3 separate regions of the Homo sapiens genome follow, and regions 2 and 3 are each linked to region 1. Evidence: promoter capture Hi-C in 16 types of primary human blood cells and fetal thymus (Javierre and others, 2016). All regions are on one chromosome and are shown on one strand. The core of a region is centred on a gene start or on the middle of the fragment in contact, and the rest is flanking DNA. Distances in the headings are between cores, read along the strand shown.

Evidence for each region. Contacts are between HindIII fragments. The CHiCAGO score rates a contact against its expected background, and 5 or more counts as called.
Region 2: a fragment that was not itself captured here is called in contact with the fragment with the promoter of ARHGAP24 in region 1 in 1 of 17 cell types (endothelial precursors); the score reaches 7.2 in endothelial precursors.
Region 3: a fragment that was not itself captured here is called in contact with the fragment with the promoter of ARHGAP24 in region 1 in 1 of 17 cell types (total B cells); the score reaches 7.5 in total B cells.

The regions. Positions count from the first base shown.
Region 1 is chr4:85,472,887-85,476,931 of GRCh38, forward strand. It overlaps ARHGAP24 (Rho GTPase activating protein 24), which reads left to right and starts at 2,264. Exons shown (of 10, transcript NM_001025616.3): 1 at 2,264-2,673. The HindIII fragment of the contact is 5,990 bases long and covers 1,554-4,045 here.
Region 2 is chr4:86,044,605-86,048,649 of GRCh38, forward strand. All of the region lies in intron 11 of MAPK10 (mitogen-activated protein kinase 10), which reads right to left. Among named protein-coding and RNA genes, the nearest start is that of MAPK10-AS1, 73 kb to the right of the region's middle. The HindIII fragment of the contact is 190 bases long and covers 1,156-1,345 here.
Region 3 is chr4:85,995,718-85,999,762 of GRCh38, forward strand. All of the region lies in intron 9 of ARHGAP24 (Rho GTPase activating protein 24), which reads left to right. Among named protein-coding and RNA genes, the nearest start is that of MAPK10-AS1, 120 kb to the right of the region's middle. The HindIII fragment of the contact is 1,252 bases long and covers 1,143-2,394 here.

The DNA.
Region 1 (4,045 bases), core at 1,014-3,513:
TGGAGTCTGTATCAGTCACATCAGCATTCTCCTCTGATTAGAATCAGGTTTCAAGGGTCTTGTTCAAGAGTTTATTCTCTCCTTTAAAGATGCCACAATACGTATAAGGAATGTCTCTTGGTCCCAACTAATCTACAATAAGAGAGGAGCAGTATAGTCAGAGGCCAGAAAACAACGCAGTTTCTAGTTCAGGTTATATTCTCTTGGAACAGACTCCTTGCTGAGGGGCTTCTAGAAAAGGAATGCAATGGTCCACCTCTTTCTAAGTAGGAGGGGAAGAAGGGGCTTGTATTGGTGGATATAACTCCTTTCCTATCCTCTCAACTGTCTAATCCCCAAGTGACAACCATCCTCTCCTTCTGTTGTACTTTCTAGCTTAAGATAATCACATATATCACACACACCAATGAAGTGCTATCAGTTGGAAAGGGTGGAGACAGAACCAGAAGATGGGAAGGAAAAGGCCTTGAACACAGCCTGTGTGTGTATTAGAGGTGTGTCTTAATCTTTTGGACTAGGGACTACCCAGTAACCACCCTGAGTTCAGTTTTGTATCACTTTGAGACTAAACTGCTGTGGTAATATTTGTTAGACCCTGAAATAAATTACTGACATGACAGTTTCCTTGTTTTTTTAAATGTCCCCATCTTGAATCATAATTATTGGTACTTGTCTTCCTGAGGCTTTTGAGTCCATCAAATGTGTGCAAATTTCATTTGGGTTAATGTTATTTTCCAGCTTTCATCTGAAACTGCCCATCAGCATTCACCTGCTAGGGTGTTGCTAGAACATGTAAGGCCATGTGGGTTGATGAAGGTAATTTATTCCCACCAATTGGAAAATAAGCTACATTACTTCTAGCTTAGGAATTCCATACATATTTTTAAAATGAAATATGAAACGCAATTTTTTCCCCACACAAATTAATTTGATTCATTAAAGGGCTGAGAATTCTCCCACCAGAAAATCAAGTTTATAGTAGGACCTCAGCATGGGATGGGGTAGATTCGTTTCTCCAAGAACTTGGAGAAAGAGGACAAAAAGGAAAAACATATCAGTGTCCACTCAGCCTTTTATTTTTGGTGTTTCTAAAACTAAACATTTGCTCTTCTTCCATATCCCTCTCTCACTGGAGATCCCTAGTGAGGACACCCCCATTCTGTGTCTTAAGGATATCTGGTGATGATTTCTAAAAGAGAGTTTCTTTTATTAGTAGTAGCAGTAGTAATTGTTCGAGACGGGGGTGTCACTCCGTCACCTAGGCTGGAGTGCGCTGGCACAATTATAGCTCACTGCAGCCTTGACCTCCTGGGCTCAAGGGATTTTCCCGCTTCAGCCTCCTGAGTAGCTGGGACTACAGACATACGCCGCCACGCCCAACTTTTTTTTTATTTTTTTAATTTTTTTTTTATAGAGACAGGAGTCTCATTATGTTGCCAATTTTGGTCTGAAACCCCTGGGCTCAAGCGATCCTCCTGCCTCAGCCTTCCAAAGTGCTAGGATTGCATGACTGATCCACTGTAAGTGGGTTTCTAAAACAGAGATCTTTACAAAGCTTTTTGAAATAATTTGACTCAGCATGCCAGGTAACCAGAACTGTAAGATCACAATTTGAAACAGACATTGTGGTGATGGTGGGAAGAGACGGCCTGCATCAAAACAATGTTTACTAGTTTGTCCTTTTGTCCCATATTGTGTAACTCCGAGAGTTCTTACACCACCGTAAGAAAGTAATTATACTTTGAATTTCTCTAAGGCTCTAGTTAGAGAGCATCCATCTAAATGTGCATTTCCAGGAATATTGCTTTAATGGCCCAGGTAATTCTAATTGGAGAAATAAAATGTTAGCGAGACAGAGTTGGTAGAAGCAAGTAAAACCGGTGTATGGGGTTTGGCCAATGAAATGCAGAGCTCCTTGAGGGCAGGAGACATGTATTCACCAACCTTCTCGCGCCCACAGCCCCAGATCTGTGGCCAACAAGTATCTATGATGCACTTGAAAGGAACGAGCGATGCCAGATGCGGAGGAACCAGGCAGGGCGCATTCTGTCAGTGGCGCCAGGCGGTGTAGCTCCAGCTCTCAGATAACCCAGGCTTTGGGAGGGCGGGGCTCCTGCCGGCCTCCCCTGTAGTGCGGCTCGAGTCCTGTGAAGCTACCAGTTGCCAAATGAAATCTGAAACCTCGAGCTGTGTCTGAGGGTTGGCCCCACTCAGTTGTTCCAGCCTCTTGTACTGTATATTTACACATTCACACACAATCACCCTTTCTAACTTCTGGGACTCTTTGCGCAACTGCTAGGATTTCTCAAGTGCATGTGGCAACACAGCCCAGCTCCGGGTGGAAACCAGCAGGGCTCTGGAGGGGCTCGGAGACCAGGGGAGCTGTCAAGGCTGCGGCGGGGACCAGAGAGGAGCCTGGCGGGGGTGGCTGGGTGGCTGGGGGAATCCCCCCAACTTCCCATCGCAGGCGCAGCTCTCTCGGCCGCCTATTTCCTCCGAAACCCGCGCTGCGGAGCAGCCCAGTGCATAGAGTTCAACACTTCCCCTTGTTGTGGAAAGTAAAGGAGCCTCACTACCACCTTTTTTTCTTTGCGTTTTCTTACTGCTGGTCCTGGGAGCCTTTTCCTTCGGAGCAGCAGCCCTGTCCGGCATCTGTCTTGAGCTCCCAGCAAGGTAGGTGATGCGGTCGCGAGGAAGTGCGCGGAGCTACCGCGGGAAGGACGGACGCGGCTGCCTGCGCCAGGGGAGGGGGCTGCGGGGGGCGGGGAGGGGGCTGCGGGGGGCGGGGAGGGGGCTGCGGGGGGCGGGGAGGGGGCTGCGGGGGGCGGGGAGGGGGCTGCGGGGGGCGGGGAGGGATCGCAGGAATCCCGTGCTGATGTAGCCTGTCTGTGTTTGTGTGTGTGTGTGCGCGCGCGCGCATGTTTGTGCCGGGAGACAGCAAGCTGGTAGTATGTCTTTCTGGCTTTAAAAATAGATGGAATTAATAAAAACCCTTTGTACAATTCAATTTCCTCTCTTGGTATCCATCCTCCCCTTCCCCTTGTTTGTTTCCTCTAGTATCTTATAGGAGTTCCCTATGTAACAGGCGCACAAAGATAGGTTTTAATAATAAGCATATATATTTGCAAAAATATATATTTTATATGTATAAAATATGTTTTAAAATATTTATAAATATATTACATATTAGAAATATATATTATAAAATATATACATATATTTGTAAACACAAAACGTTAGGGAATCTTTGGTGAATTTGAAGCCACTCAAAAGATTTTGTCCAAATGTTTTTAAAAATAACATTTAATGATAAACATGTAATATGGTCTCGTTTTTAGAAAATACTTAAGACTACATTTATTTTATACGTACCCAAATAGAAGGGAGACAATGTTACTCTGAATTCCTTAGATAGATTTTCAGCATCAACCAGTAATAGGGAGCCCAGACTTCTTTGTAGACTATATCTCGTTTAATTCATTTGAATTAAACAAGTAATTTCTCCAAGTAATTTCTGTTTCCAGCACATTTTATGTTACTCTTTTTTTAACCTTCCACGGCATCATTGTTTCATCTCTTTCTAAAAAGGAAATAAATAAATCGTGCTGAGTATTTGGAATATAAAAGTTGTTAAGGCTTTGCTTATACATAAATACATAAATAAAACAATATGTGTTGCTATGTCTACTAAGTAAGACAAATTCATTGGAATCCAGGGATATTTGCAGTAGAGTTTAAGAGCTTTACTCAGTTACTGAGTAGAAGATGTACAGACGGATTAAATACAAACAATCTGTCCCCAGTTCCAATTAGAACTCAAAACCAATCCTTCAGGGCAAAAATGGATGACGCTATTGAACTGGGCATTGTAAAATAAAACACACAGAATGTATGTATTAGAAAAAGCCAGAAAACAGCCATAAAGTCACATCAGACTTGTGAAGATCTCACTCCCCCTTTTAAATTTCTTAATTCTTCCTCTTTTCTGGGCATATTTCAACTTGTAAGAGAGCTCAGTAATAAAAGTTACCATTTTATCTTCCCT
Region 2 (4,045 bases), core at 1-2,500, 570 kb after region 1:
TATCATATACTATGATTTTAAAGAACAGGACAAAGAAATTTGTGAATTGTAATCAAAGTGGACACAAGATTTGTGTCTCATAATCAAATGCAGTCCGTAGACTAAAGTGAGCAGGGAGAATCTCTGAGCCTCATAATGCGTCACAGGTTTTCTGAAAGGAACAATGGAAAGAGCACTGAAGCACCATTGACTCTGGCACTAGTAAGATGAGTGACCTTGAGCAAGTCACTCAGTTTGCAATGAAAGATTTTCATCTACTGCTTTATTCAAGAGAAACTAGTTCCAAATGTTCAACAAATATCATACCAGGTAATTCAACAAAACTTTCTTAAGTACTTGCAATGCGAAAAGCATGGAATTATAATGTGTTATAAATGGAAAGCACTAATGTTGCTTAGAGACATCATAGCATTAGGTGACCAGAGGAACCTTTGAAAGCTAGTAATGCAAATTTTAATTATGATCTGAACTGAGTGTAATTAGAAAGCTTAATTACATAATGCTCCAGTGGTTTGGCAAAGAAGTTGAATTCAGTTTTCTCTATTTTTCATTCTGTTCTGTAGTTTTCTCAGATTTATTTATTAGCTCTACACCATCAAAAAGTGTAATCATGTCTTGAAAATGAAATTTCTCTTTCCTGCTCCTTGGAAATTAAAATTTTCTATGGTTCTTTAACTGAAAAGTTTCAGTAATTGCACCACCAATCACCCAGTGCCTTGGTCAGGAATCTTTCTTTCTTCATTCGTTCATTTAACACATATTTATTAACCCTCTACCATATGATATTACTCATCTTTGAATTCCACCTCCCTTAAATTCCAAATTTAATTATTTACAATTCATGTCAATTATTAGCTTCTAAACATCTCTTGAATATTCTGCCCATGTCTACAGTGATTTAGATTACTACAGATCTATCCTCCTGCCTTCTAGCTCCCTTTTCTCAACTCCAGTCCCACACTGCAGACAGTGGCCCTTTGAAACTTCAAATCTGCTAATGCTATTGCCCCACTTCCTAGTGAATGGCTTCCCTTCACCCTAGGATAGCATGCATGGTACATGACAATGCTTGGGAACTCCTTCCTTATCTGGTCCCTGCTTACCAGCCCAAAATAATTTCTCACCCTTCTCCATTAAGTCACTCAGAAAGCTTAAAGCTTTGCAATTCTCTCCACCCTCTCTTGACCCTGGGATTTTTGCATATACCCTTTCTTCTGCTTGCCTTTCTTCACTTGGATAATTTCTTTTTTAGCCCTTCATGTTCCTGTTTGAAAATTAATCACTCCAAGCAGCCTTCTGTAACCCACATTACTGGGTTATTTTTATGTGTTTCCAATGTACAATAAGCTTAAAATTTGGAATACGTATCATCAACATTTACTTATTTATCTTCTCACTAGACCATGGGACAAAGAATTGAGAATAAAAGACCTAGGAATCCAACTTACAAGGGATGTGAAGGACCTCTTCAAGGAGAACTACAAACCACTGCTCTCTATTTGTCTGTTATTCGTGTATAAGAATGCTTGTGATTTTTGTACATTGATTTTGTATCCTGAGACTTTGCTGAAGTTGCTTATCAGCTTAAGGAGATTTTGGACTGAGATGATGGGGTTTTCTAAATATGCAATCATGTCATCTGCAAACAGGGACAATTTGACTTCCTGTCTTCCTATTTGAATACGCTTTATTTCTTTCTCTTGCCTGACTGCCCTGGCCAGAACTTCCAATACTATGTTGAATAGGAGTGGTGAGAGAGGGCATCCTTGTCTTGTGCTGGTTTTCAAAGGGAATGTTTCCAGCTTCTGCCCATTCAGTATGATATTTGCTATGGGTTTGTCATAAATAGCTGTTATTATTTTGAGATTTTGGGCTGAGACAATGGGGTTTTCTAGATATACAATTGAAAATCTAGAAGAAATGGAAGCACAGTATATAGTACATAGTAGATATCCAACAAGTATGAACCATTGATGAAGAACAATTATTTGCATTCAAAAATCTACGATATATTAACTCGGAAAAATTGGTCAGGTAAAGAGATGAAATAAATTATGACATGTCTGACATTACTCAAATAATTTTTAAAAAGTAGATTCCAGCTTTTGATATACACATATTAGCCACACAATCATGGGCAATGTGCTTAACATCCATTAACATCCTGAGCTTTAGTGTCTTCAATTCTAAACACAGATACATTCATTCAGCAAATATTGATTATATGACTACTAAGGGCCAGACAGTGTTCTAGGTAGTTGGGATACAGCAGTGCCCCAAAGAGTCACTGTCTCTCTTTTTACGCATCTTAAATTCTAGTTGATGAGACAGATAATAAAAAGAGATATATAATGTCAAACAGTGACACATAGAGAAAAAAGATTAAGAGGCTAGAGTGTAACAGAGTACTATTCTATTTTTTCTTTTTAGTTTTTTTCTTTTTGTTTTTGTTTTACTTTTTAAACTATTATTAGTATTATTTTTACAAACACTTGTACCAAGGGCTGACTTTCAATAGATCACAGCAAGGATCCCCTCTGCTACATATGAAACCCTGACCCAGAAGCAGGTCATCTACTTATGTTTTAGTGCCAGGTTACACACGAATGTGTGTTACATGACGGGCAAGGGGGCGGCCGAAGAGTACTATTTTAGAAAGGATGGTCATAAAAGGCTTCTTTGAGAAGGTAACATTTGAGCAGAGATTTGAATGAAGTAAAGGAGGGAGCAATGTGAATATCTGGAGGAAGAATGTCCCAGGCAGAAGGAAATACAATGCAAAGACCCTAAAGGGGGAGCTTGCTTGGTGTGGTAAGGAAACCGCAAGGATGCCATATACTGGTGCAGAGTGGAAAAGGGAAGCCTAAAGGTGATATCAGAAAAGTAGGCAGGAGCCAGACTAAGTAGAGCCATGTTTTCCAAACTGCAGTCATGAAAACAAATTGGTGTCATCACTAGCACCTTTTAGTGTAACTAAGAAGAGTAAAATGAGATAGAAAATATCAGTGTATGGTTTTTCTTTTGTGTGTGTGTACGTGTGTGTGTGCACGCACGTGCACTTGTACACGCATGCTGGGTTGCAATGTAAAACACCCTTCTTACTATGGGTTATGATAAAATTTGAAACAACACTGTGGTAGGGCCTTGCAAGCCATGATAAGTACTTTGAGTTTTGTTATAAATATGATAAGAAGCCATTGGAAGATGGGAAGGTGTTAGCTGAGGAATTATGTGAATGTAACGTGTTTTACATTTTAAAAGGAAAATTCTAGGCATTCTGCAGAATGGACCACAAGGGACAAGAGTGGTGCTGAGAGATAAGTCCCAGAATATTACATGGTCCAGGGTAGAAATGATGTTTGCATAGATGAAAGGATGAGAAGTGATCTGAGTCAAGGTATATTTAGAAAGTAAGTTCAGTTAAGAGTTGTTGAGGATAGTCATCATTTTCTAGAGTTTTTATGAGGCTTAAATAAGATTGGATATCAGAAAGGGTTTTATAAACACTAGAGAAGTGCTCAGCAGAGTACAGCTGAGTTCAATTCAAAGGGCATTTACTGACCATACACTATGCACCTGCCATTACTCTCACTGTTTTCTCTGCACTCGGTAGATAAAACTGAATTTCTGCTCCCAAGGAACTTTACAGCAGTAGAGTTGTGGAAGATAGACATAAAAATGAATCACTGCAGCATAATGCACAATATGATAATGGCATATGGAAGGTTCTAAAGAAAATGAGTTAACTTAAAATTCTGAGAAGCAGTAGCTTTTGTTGCAAGCCTTTCTTTTCATAGGTAAAAGATCACATTAGCCCCAAGGATATTCTGTAGGACAAATATGAGCTAAAAATGAACTAGAAAATAGCTCTAGGTGAAAAACACATCGAACACAGATATTGCTGAGTTAGTCTATTAAAGCCACATGTCATTTGCACTTTTGCCCTACAGTCACAAAACAAAAGCAAATGAACAAGGGAAAGAGGATCTTCAGCCCTCCTACATAAGTAACATGAATCAATAAGGAGTCATCCTGGAGACCACAG
Region 3 (4,045 bases), core at 519-3,018, 520 kb after region 1:
CAGGATCACACTGAGGGTGACATATGCTGGCTCCAAAGTCAAAGAAACACAAGTTTGCTCCATCATTTATGAGCTTTGTGACTGTGTGCAAGTTAGCTTCATCTCTGTGAGCTTTGATTCCCTAATGTAAACAATTTAAATACTAGTAGTATCTACCTCAAAAGCACATAAGAAGTGATTGAACATTTCCCTGGTACAGAATAGGCTCAATAATGTCATCTTTGATTATTATTAAATAGATAGATTTGCATTAGAGGGCTGGAAGGAGAGGGGCTGTGAGGAGATGGACAGAGCATTAGGAGCCTGTTAGTTTTCACTAACAAGAAAAGGATGAAACTAGGGTAAAAAAAGTAGAAGTAAATAGACCTCCATGTTTTATTCTTTCAATCATTGAATGTTGAGAGAGTGCCTTCTATCTGCCAGGCTCTGTTCCAGACGCTGAGGATTCAGATGAGCTGAGAGAGGCCATAAGAGCCAGGTGACATAGGGGATTGACAGGCTGATTTTCAGCCTTTGACTTTTACTCTGAGATAGAAATCCATGGAGGTTTTTGAGAAGAGGGGTGACGTGAAGTATGTTCACATGAATAAGGAAGACTGTAGCCTAAATGAGGAAAAAAGAATATGATTTATAAAGAAGCAATTATGCTAAAACCTAATTATATCAATGTGCATCTTCTCATAAAATGATCAAAGTAGGAGTAGCTCCTCTAGTGTTCTCAGTCCCAGTTTCAGGCTGTGTGATTTGGACAACCCTTCCTCCATGGTGTGCTAGGATCCTCAGTTGGTTGTTAAGTTGGCTTTAATTTACCTTAATATGTTTCCTATCCATTCATCAATTATCAGACAAAAAGATAACGTACTTTCAGAAGCTATGGCAAAATAAATATTAAAAAATACTACTTATAAATGAGATTGAAAAATTACTTCCTTGGAAAGTATTTTTTTGGTAAGTTTCACTGAGTGGAATTGTGGTTTGAATTTTTCTATATAATGGAGAGTGACAGGAGATTTAAAGAAAAATATAGGGTCATTATCTTAAAAGGTTACTCTTCTTTCTGAATGTAGTTTTTGGAACCACTATGTATTGGAATTCTGAATTACTGCCAATCCATGATGATAAATTAGCATTTCACACTGGGAAGCTTATATTTTGAGGCAAGGGGTCACACTTTAAATGTAGTAGAAAAAGAAAAAAGTTATCACTATGAATTTGCAGATGGATACATTCATTTCTGAGGATGTTGCTGATGCATATATGTTCTGAGATCTACGGTATATTTCAGAGATTTTGATAAACTGATAGAACTTCCCAATAGAGGTCATCTTAATGGGCCATTTCAGTGTCACATTCTTACCCTCATGACAGGCCAAGGGAGAGCTCTGCAGTAGGGTGGAGGGTGGGGGACCGCTCGTGGCCTAGCCATGAAATTATAGAAAGTTAACTGTTCTGGCTAAATTTTGATCATTTCTGTTTAGAGTTATTCATTTTTCTTTAAATTCCTTTATAACTTTACCCCACAAGCATTGAAGGTAGATGGATGGATAGATAGGTAGGTAGGTAAATAGGTAGGTAGGTAGGTAGGTAGATGATAGATAGATAGATAGATGATAGATAGATAGATAGAGAGATAGATAATAGATAGATGATAGATATAGATAGATAGATAGATAGATAGATAGATAGATAGATAGATAATATTTTACTTTGTTTAATTATCAATAAGATATATGTTTAAATCATTTATAACTTTACCCCACAAGTATTGAGGGTGGATGGATGGATAGGTAGGTAGGTAAATAGGTAGGGAGGTAGGTAGACAGATAGATAATATTTTACTTTAATTATCAGTCAGTGAGATATATGGTTTTTAGTTTTGAAACATATATTCTTTTTCCCTCTCCAAATTGGTTTCTAACTTTTTCTTTTCTTATTTTTTTTTATGTTTTATTTTTTGACAGAGTCTCACTCTGTTGCCCACGCTGGAGAGTGCAGTGATGCAATCTTGGCTCACTGCAACCTCTGCCTCCCAAGTTGAAGCGATTCTCCTGCCTCAGCCTCCTGAGTAGCTTGGATTACAGATGCATGCCATCATGACTGGATAATTTTTTTTTTTCTTGTGGAGACAGGGGTTTTACCATGTTGGCCAGGCAGCTCTTGAGCTCTTGACCTCAAATGATCCACCCACCTCGGCCTCCCAAAGTGCTGGGGTTACAGGCATAAGCCATGGCACTCAGCTAGTTTCTAACAATTTTCTTAGGAAATATTGTATTGTGGTCAGAGAAGTTCATCTGGATGATATTAATTATTTGGTCTATTAAAACTATTCCCTTATTACTGGATTGGGATTCTATATATGACCAAGAGATCAAGTCTGTTAATCAGGCTATTCAAAGCTTCTGTATTTCTTCTCATTTTTATCAGCTATATCAATAATTTTTGAGAAAGATACTTTAAAATTTCCTATCAGTATTCTGAGTTTATCAGTTTCTTTTTATAATTTTGTCATATTTTATATTGAACAATTTGAGGCTCTACTACTAGGTGAATAGAAGTTTGGAGTTGTTCATATCTCCCTGAAGAATTGATCCTTTTATCATTAATTAGTGCCTATTTTTCATTGTAATAATGCTTTTTACCTGAAACTCTATTTTTTCTGATATTAATATTGTCCTACCATCTTCCTTTGATTAGTAACTTCCTGATATGTCTTTTCCTTTATTTAACTTTCAAACTTTGTTTGATGATTTGATCTAACAACTTACATCTTTACAATTCTGGAATATTTTTTTCATCATCTTTTTGTCTATTTCATCTTCCCACCTTCTCAATTTTCTCTTTCCAGAACCCTTATTAAGCTATGTTTGACCTTGTTAATCTATCCTCTGTCTTTGTTAACTTCTTTTTTCCATATTAAATTTCTATAATTATCATTTTTGAGGCATTCTAGGTAACTTTTCTCAGACCTGTTTTGTAGCTTACTAATACTCTGATGAGCTAATTCAATTCTGATACTTCCCCAGGCCCATGATTGGAGATTTTGTAGTCTCTTCTTCATAAAAACAGTTAATGTTCCAAGCTCTCAGTTAAATTACTTGTAGTTTTCTGCCTGCCTAATACTGGAGGCCTCACCTTCTGTCCCCATGTGAAAAAGAAAAACCTAGACCCAAGCTCTGTGGCCTCTATCCAAGACTAATATCCTTCGTGTGCTTCTACTTATTGTTCTATATTTCGGTTTCTTCCTTGGTTCTGATGGCTGAAGCTGCTGTTTTATTTTAACCTTGATGATGTATTTTAAAAATATATTTCTTAAAACTTTTCCAGCACTTTTATATGTTTGCATTGGGAGGGATTTCTTCTGTATTCAACTTAGTCCTTTTCATTCCTGGAAGTTTCCCACAAGCACCTGATACATACAAATGTGTCAATATATTGTTTTGTAAGGGTTGTCCTTCTCAGTATTTTAATTTCAATTTCTTCCAAAATTTTGGCTCTAAAATAGCTTTGGAAAACAAAGAGAATATATTGTAGAATAATTCTGAGTGGAAACCAGCATAGTACCAACTTTTCATGTAAAAATGTGGTCATATGTTTAAAATAGCCTTCTAAATGATGTAGGATTACAAAATATGAAGTATTATTTTTTAAAATTCTAGTTGCTTACAAAGAGAAGGAAGATTAATTTTTAAGTGTTCTTATTATCTGGATGAAATATCAACATGTGGGGATCAAATTTTTCAAAGCAGAAACATAATTGAGATTTTAATTTAAAAACTGTTATTAAAATAATCAGATATCTGAGAGCTACACATGCATTAACCTTTCAAATTTCAGTGGTATGGTAAGTTTGAATGAGTCCCATGGGACTTTTGCTCAGAATAGGAGAAATTAAAAAGTCAGCCGAGGCCAAGATACATCTTAAATAAAGATGTAACTTTAATACCCCTCTTTTGAATAATATATGTATATGATTTGGATCTTAGTGGTTATGGAGAAAACAGTCTCTGTTTTTAAAAACGTTACTGCGAATTCTACAATTATCCAA